2 separate regions of the Homo sapiens genome follow, and region 2 is linked to region 1. Evidence: promoter capture Hi-C in 16 types of primary human blood cells and fetal thymus (Javierre and others, 2016). All regions are on one chromosome and are shown on one strand. Each heading gives the region's core, a stretch centred on a gene start or on the middle of the fragment in contact. The rest is flanking DNA. Distances are from core to core; before and after follow the strand shown.

Region 1 (3,665 bases), core at 873-3,372:
CCCCATAGCTCGCTGCAGCTTCGAACTCCTGGGCTCAATCAATCCTTCCCCGCGTAATTCTCCCAAGTATCTAAGATCTCAGACTGAGCCACCAGGCCAGGCTTTTTCTTTTCTTTTCTTTTTTTTTTTTGAGACGACGGAGTCTCGCTCTATTGTCCAGGCTGGAGTGCAATGGCATGATCTTGGCTCACTGCAACCCCCGCCTCCCGGGTTCAAGCGATTCTCCTGCCTCAGCCTCCCGAGTAGCTGGGATTTCAGGAGCCCACCGCCATGCCTGGCTAATTTTTTTGTATGTTTAGTAGAAACAGGGTTTTGCCACGTTGGCCAGGCTGGCCTCGAACTCCTGACCTCAAGTGATCCGCCCATCTCGGCCTCCCAAAGTGCTGGGATTATAGGCATGAGCCACCGGGCAGGGCAGGCTTTTTACTTTTTGTGGAGGTGAGGGGGCTGTCTCGCTTTATTGCCCAGGCTGGTCTTGATCTCCTGGGCTCAAGCGATTCTTCTGCCTTAGTCTTTCAAATTGCTGGGATTACAGGTCTGACCTAGGGCGTCAGGCCGTTACTGCTTAGTTTCGTTTAGTGTTTATTTTAGAATACTGTGTTAATTGCTCCTTTTGAAAAGAGAAATCCAACAAACACAATTCTCACTAGAGGAATGTAGTCTTTTTTTTTTTTTTTTTTTTTGAGACGTAGTCTTGCTCTGTTACCCAGGCTGGAGTGCAATAGCGTGATCTCGGCTCACTGCAGCCTCTGCCTCCCGGAGTCAAGCGATTCTCCTGCCTCAGCCTCCCAAGTTGCTGGGACTACAGATGCACACCACCACGCCCGGCTACTTTTTGTATTTGTTTAGTAGAGACGGGCTTTCATTATGTTGGGCAGGCTGATTTCGAACTCCTGACCCTATGATCCGCCCTCCTTGGCCTCCCAAAGTGTTGGGATTACAGGCATGAGCCACTGAGCCCAGCCGGAATGCAGTCATCTTTAAAACTTAAAAAGCCCGCCCTGAAATGCTAATGGGCAGCTATCCTTCTTTGTTCTCTCGTTTCTGTATTAATATTTCACCCTTTTCTGACAAGTGCACATGAATAAACAGCCTGTGTATTAATGATAAATTTGTATACACAGCATGGACCTATACACAAAATAACGCAGTGAAACCTTGGTGTCACAACCTCGGTTTCTATTCTTGTATACCTTTATAAACGCATTTTTACTGCAAAGAAACACCAGTAAGATAAATTAGTGCATGAAATGTGAGCAAGGATTTCAATAAAGAACTGACCAGTAACGTCAGAAGCGTTCGTTAAAAATTAGGACAGTGAACATTGAGATTTCAGGCATCGTATGTGTATTCCAGCACTTTACAGAAAAGGTGGGTGGCTCTGAAAAGAGCCTTTGGTTTCTGGGACTCGGGATCACTGACGGATTTGACTAGTAATCATTTCACTTGCCCTTGGCCTTATGGTGGCTCTCCGTCTTCTTAGGCAGCAATACGGCCTGGATGTTGGGCAGGACACCGCCCTGCGCGATGGTCACGCGACCTAGAAGCTTATTTAGCTCCTCGTCGTTGCGGATGGCTAGCTGCAGGTGGCGCGGGATGATGCGGGTCTTCTTATTGTCGCGAGCCGCGTTGCCAGCTAGCTCTAAGATCTCGGCCGTCAGATATTCCAGCACCGCTGCCAGGTACACTGGAGCGCCGGCCCCGACTCGTTCGGAGTAGTTGCCTTTGCGGAGGAGGCGGTGCACACGGCCAACTGGAAACTGAAGACCGGCCCTGGAAGAACGCGTTTTAGCTTTTGCCCGAGCTTTGCCGCCTTGCTTTCCACGTCCAGACATAGTGGCTTCCTAACAGCAGAAGAACTAACAATCCACTGAATAAAGAAAAAGAATGGGCTCGATGGAGGAATAAGAAGCTAGTTATAGTCATCGGTAGAATTGTGAAAGGCGCAATTTGATTGGTTAAAATTGTTCTTTGACGAGCCAACCAATTAGAAAGGAAATAAGGTGAAGGCTATTTTACATGTATGCGTCACTAACACATTGCCCAATCAGAGCTGGATATTTTGAATTCTTTATTTGCATGAAAGGCCTATAAAAGGAGAGACTCTAGACACGAGCTTTTATTTAAGTGCGTTCATTCTCACTGCTGTTATTGTTTTCTGACAGCATGCCTGAACCAGCTAAGTCAGCTCCTGCTCCGAAGAAGGGTTCCAAGAAGGCTGTGACCAAGGCGCAGAAGAAGGATGGCAAGAAGCGCAAGCGCAGTCGTAAGGAGAGCTACTCCGTGTATGTGTACAAGGTGCTAAAACAGGTTCACCCCGATACTGGCATCTCATCCAAGGCCATGGGCATCATGAATTCCTTCGTTAACGACATCTTCGAACGCATCGCAGGCGAGGCTTCCCGTCTGGCCCACTACAACAAGCGCTCGACCATTACCTCCAGGGAGATCCAGACCGCCGTGCGTCTGCTGCTTCCCGGAGAGCTGGCCAAGCACGCAGTGTCCGAAGGTACCAAGGCTGTCACCAAGTATACAAGCTCCAAGTAAATGTGTGCTTAGGTGCTTTAAAACTCAAAGGCTCTTTTCAGAGCCACTCAAGTCTCACATAAAGAGCTTTAATATTGAATTTCACCGTTTTCTAGGGAATAATTTTTCCGATTTTGTAATCCCAGCACTTTGGGAGGCCGAGGCGTGCGGATCGAGACCAGTTTGGCTAACGTGGTTAAATCTCGTTTCTACTAAAAATACAAATATTAGCCGGGCGTGGGGCAGTCGCGTGTCATCCCAGAGACTCGGGAGGCTGCCGCAGGAGAATCACTTAAACCCAGCAAGCAAAGGTTGCAGTGAAAAGACATGGCGCTTTTGCATTCTAGCCTGGGCGACAAAGGCGAGGCTTCGTCTCAAAAAAAATTGATCAGGAGATACTCCTGTTCTGTGTTGGCAAGATCCTGTAATCCTAGCACTTTGGGAGGTCGATGCATGAGGCTTTCTTCAGCTCAGGAGTTAACAGATTTGCCTGGGCAACATAGAACTCGTCTCTGCAAAAAAATGAAGCTAACCAGGTGTGACGGCTTGCGTCTGTACTATCATTTACTCGGTAGGCTGAGGTGGTAGGATAGCTTAAACTCTCGGGCTAGAGACTGCAGGAACATGTGAATACGCTAGTGCAATTCCAGCCTGGGCAACACTGGAAAGGGTAGGAAGAGTAGTCTTTGGGTCCCTAAAGATCACCTGATAACAAGTTTGACTTTTCTGAGCACTCTTGTGGAGTTTGTTGTGGAGGGAATACCATGGGCATTGGCAATGTAAAGTTGATCTAAAAAATCTCGTTTTCCGCCGTGCGCGGTGGCTCACGCCTCTAATCCCATCACTTTGGGAGGCCGAGACGGGCGGATCACGAGGTCAGGAGGTCGAGACCATCCTGGCTAACACTGTGAAACCCTGTCTCTACTAAAAAAATACAAACAAAATTAGCCGGGCGTGGTGGCACTCACCTGTAGTTTCAGCTACTCTGGAAGCTGAGGCTGGAGAGTCACTTGAACCCGGGAGGCGGAGGTTGCAGTGATCAGAGATCGCGCCACTGCACTCCATCCTGGGCGAAAGAGCTAGATTCCATCTCATAAAAAAAAAAAAAAAAAAAAAAAAAAAAAAATTACAGTTTTGGC
Region 2 (3,404 bases), core at 452-2,951, 150 kb after region 1:
ATGTATATATTTTTGTACTTAAAATATGTCAGAGGTTGTTCTAAGAACTATTTAAATGTTAACTCCTTAATCCTCATAATGACCCATGAAACAGGTAGGCTTATTATTGTCTCTTTACATGTGAGAACACTGAGACACGAAAAGGTTTATTAACTCACCCAAAGTCACACAGCTGGTAAAACGGCAAAATTGAATTTGAACTCAGACATTCCAGGTTCCAAGACAGTCTAATTATTCTTTTGACTAATATACTAAGCTGCCTCTGTATTTTTCCTTGATTACTTTGTAAAAGTATGAGGAAAATATAAGTGCTTCAAGTAACCATGAAAAATATAAACAATCTATGTATCAACTGAAGCATAATTACAAATCCTTTGATAAGCAAACATAATAAAAATTTGATATCAATCAAAACTTTCATGTAATGTAAGCAGGTTGAGATGAATTCTATAGTAAAAAAGTGCAGAGTGCTGGAATACCATGCTCCTAATATATTGGCTAGGCACACCTGCCTGCTATCAAAGGTATGCACACACCTTGGATACAGAAAGTTGGGACTGGGTAGTTATGTGAGTGTCATCAGAATTCTTTCCCACTTGGGAAAGAATTGTCCATCATAAGCTTGGATGATGGACAAGGAGTGAGCTCCCAGAACAGTGATGTGGGGATACATCCTCACATCACAGTGAGAATGAGTGTTCTAGACTGTTTACACACCTACCACTCCTAAATGCACACATATAATTGCTTGCACACACACACATACACACTCATCTCTTCTCTGGTGGTCCAGCTCTATCTCTTATCATTAGGCTTCTTGGGGCTAGTACCTAGGGCCTGTATCCTTTCAGAGGCAGCTAAGGGAAGCACACATAATTAGAAAGAATGAACCAGCTTGTTGGATTTGGTCTCTTCGCATCCAGCCCTCCAAGTTAAGGAGAGTACCATCTTTCTTAGGGTCACCAAAGGAAAAAAAAAAAAAAGAAAGAAACAGAAGGATATCATACAGCAAGGATCTAATGCAAATATGCCTCAAATGAGAGGCTACTGTGTGCTGATCCCAATCCCAGGAACTGTATGCACATTATCTAATTTAATCCTCACTGTATTTCTGGGAGTATTATTCCCATTTTACAGAGAAGGAACTTGGCAGGGTAACCAAGCTCATGAATGGAGAAACTGGGATTAAATATAAAGCTTCCTTGCTCCAGAACTGCTGTCTTTCTGCTCTTCCACACTACCAGCTCAGCTGTGCTCTCTACATGCAGGCAGTTTTACAAGTTTCAGATTAGCCTGGGACTTCCAGGGTTTTGAATGGGTTAGGGAATGGGGAACTTTTGGGTTTACTTTCCATTTTTTCTTCATACATATGTAATATATAACATAAATCTATGGTATATATGATAAATATATGGCTACATATGAACTATATAATCACATATATGCATTATAAATAAATATTAATTTTATAATATTTTAAAGGTTATCAAATAAATATTAATATAAATAATTAAATAATTAATACTCAGCTTTGTTTTCCAAAGTGATAAATGCCTATATTTAGCAAAATATTTTTTGGAGGCCTGATAGTTTTTAGGAGTGTAAAGAAGTCCTGATATCTAAATGTTTAAGAACCACTATTTTAGGCTGTTGTCTTCTGTCTTATTTTCCCAGCTAGACTGGTAAATACTTGAAGGCAAACGTTTAGCCAGCACATTAACATTTTATGTTTTTATTCTTTTGTGCTCTCAGTGGCTGTGTCTTTTCTATCGATTTCTCACACTGTATGATGGTTATATTTGTCTGTATCTGTCCCACCAGGTATAAGTTCTTGAGAGGACACACTGCTAGGCTGATCTTAGTTTTTATTATTTCTCCTGGTGTCCTGTGCTTAACAAGTGCTCATTAAGTGTGTAAAAACACAGCACAGTAAAAAACTAGACATTAAAAAATAATGTCAACCAATCTATTGAAATTTGCATTTCCATGTTTCTTCCAATATAGTCATTGTGTCAGGTTATGTACTTATTCTGATGAAGACTATTGCCTAATATACGTTTGCATCTTGTGCTTTATAACTGCCTTCATATAGACACAGATTGAGAAGGTGTAAAAATGTGCATATCCTCACAATTGACAAATTCTTATCCTTTGAGGGTAGGTTTGACTTTCTGAAATGCTTTGACATCATTTGAAAGAAGCTTGAAGAATAAGATAGCTGTTAATGACCCAGTTTCCTATGTCACTTATACAATTATAATGGCAATTTCAAAATGTTAGGTAAATATATTTTGCAATATATTGTTCCTTTTGTAATACTCTCTATGTATTTATTTATATTTTTAAATTTTATATTTATGTATTTATTTTTCTGGACAGAGTCTTGCTCTGTTGCCCAGGTTAGAGTGAAGTGTTGTGATCATAGCTCTCTGCAACTTCAAACTGCTTGGCAAAAGTGATCCTCCTGCCTCAGCCTCATGAGTAGAGTAGCGGGAACTACAGGCGCATGCCACTGCACCCAGCTAATCACTATTTATTATGCTCCTACTGTGTGCTTTAGTATATTTTCTGTTGTTTTCTGCAACCCATTTTGAGGGCGTGTTAGGGAATACAGATGCAGTAACTTTCGTCTCAGCCCTTGAGGTGAGGAAATATTTAGCCTCAGGTTTAATCTAATTGTTGGCCATTTGCCTTCAAAGATTGAAATATGAGCAAAACTGTGGCTCTGGGTTATATGTTAAAAAAAAGTTTATGGGGCTGAAGCCAGGCAACAGACAAGAGCCCCTACAATCTTATTTAGGCTGAAAATATCCTGGAGTCCCTGTATTGTTGGTCTCAAGCAGATAGCAACACTAACACTTACTCTTTGAGGCAGGCACTGCCAGTGGGGTGGCTGTTATTATTAGCTTCATTAATTGGTGAGTCAGGAAAAAACAGCTTTAAATCATTCAAAGTTCTGGCCTATACAGGATTTAGTAATATTAGGTTAGCTACATCCAAAAGATGACAGAACCCTACTCTAAGGCTGGGCTTGGTGGTTCACACCTATAATCTCAAAACTTTGGGAGGCTGAGGCAGGAGGATCACTTGGTGCCAAGAGTTTGAGACCAGCCTGAGCAACATAGTGAGACCCCTGTCTCTATCAAAAACAAAGAACTCTAATTGGCATAGTAGAAGGAAAAAGTGAAAGAAAAACCAGCTGTCACCCTCATTCCTTACACCTGTCCTAACAACTCCTCTCACTATCCTTTGAATATATCTTGGCTGTTTGAGTCTCTCTCTAGCCCCATTACTGCTGTTTGGACTTGACATTTTGCTCTGCATTTTTAACTTTTCTACCAGGGTTTCCAGACCCTGAAGAGTGTGGCATGAAACAAAACTAGTCAACCTATAATATTTATGAT

Evidence for each region. Contacts are between HindIII fragments. The CHiCAGO score rates a contact against its expected background, and 5 or more counts as called.
Region 2: a contact is called between a fragment that was not itself captured here and the fragment with the promoter of H2BC8 in region 1, in 1 of 17 cell types (monocytes). The highest score is 5.4, in monocytes.

Annotation. Positions count from the first base shown.
Region 1 is chr6:26,215,145-26,218,809 of GRCh38, reverse strand. H2BC8 (H2B clustered histone 8) reads left to right here and starts at 2,122. Exons shown (of 1, transcript NM_003518.4): 1 at 2,122-2,610. The coding sequence starts at 2,167. The coding sequence ends at 2,547. H2AC8 (H2A clustered histone 8) reads right to left here and starts at 1,889. Exons shown (of 1, transcript NM_021052.4): 1 at 1,373-1,889. The coding sequence starts at 1,835. The coding sequence ends at 1,443. RefSeq lists enhancers at 1,069-1,178, 1,094-1,745, 1,459-1,878, 1,746-2,397, 2,309-2,658 and 2 more. The HindIII fragment of the contact is 5,797 bases long and covers 1,550-3,665 here.
Region 2 is chr6:26,060,765-26,064,168 of GRCh38, reverse strand. No RefSeq gene overlaps it. Among named protein-coding and RNA genes, the nearest start is that of H1-2, 6.0 kb to the right of the region's middle. The HindIII fragment of the contact is 1,004 bases long and covers 1,200-2,203 here.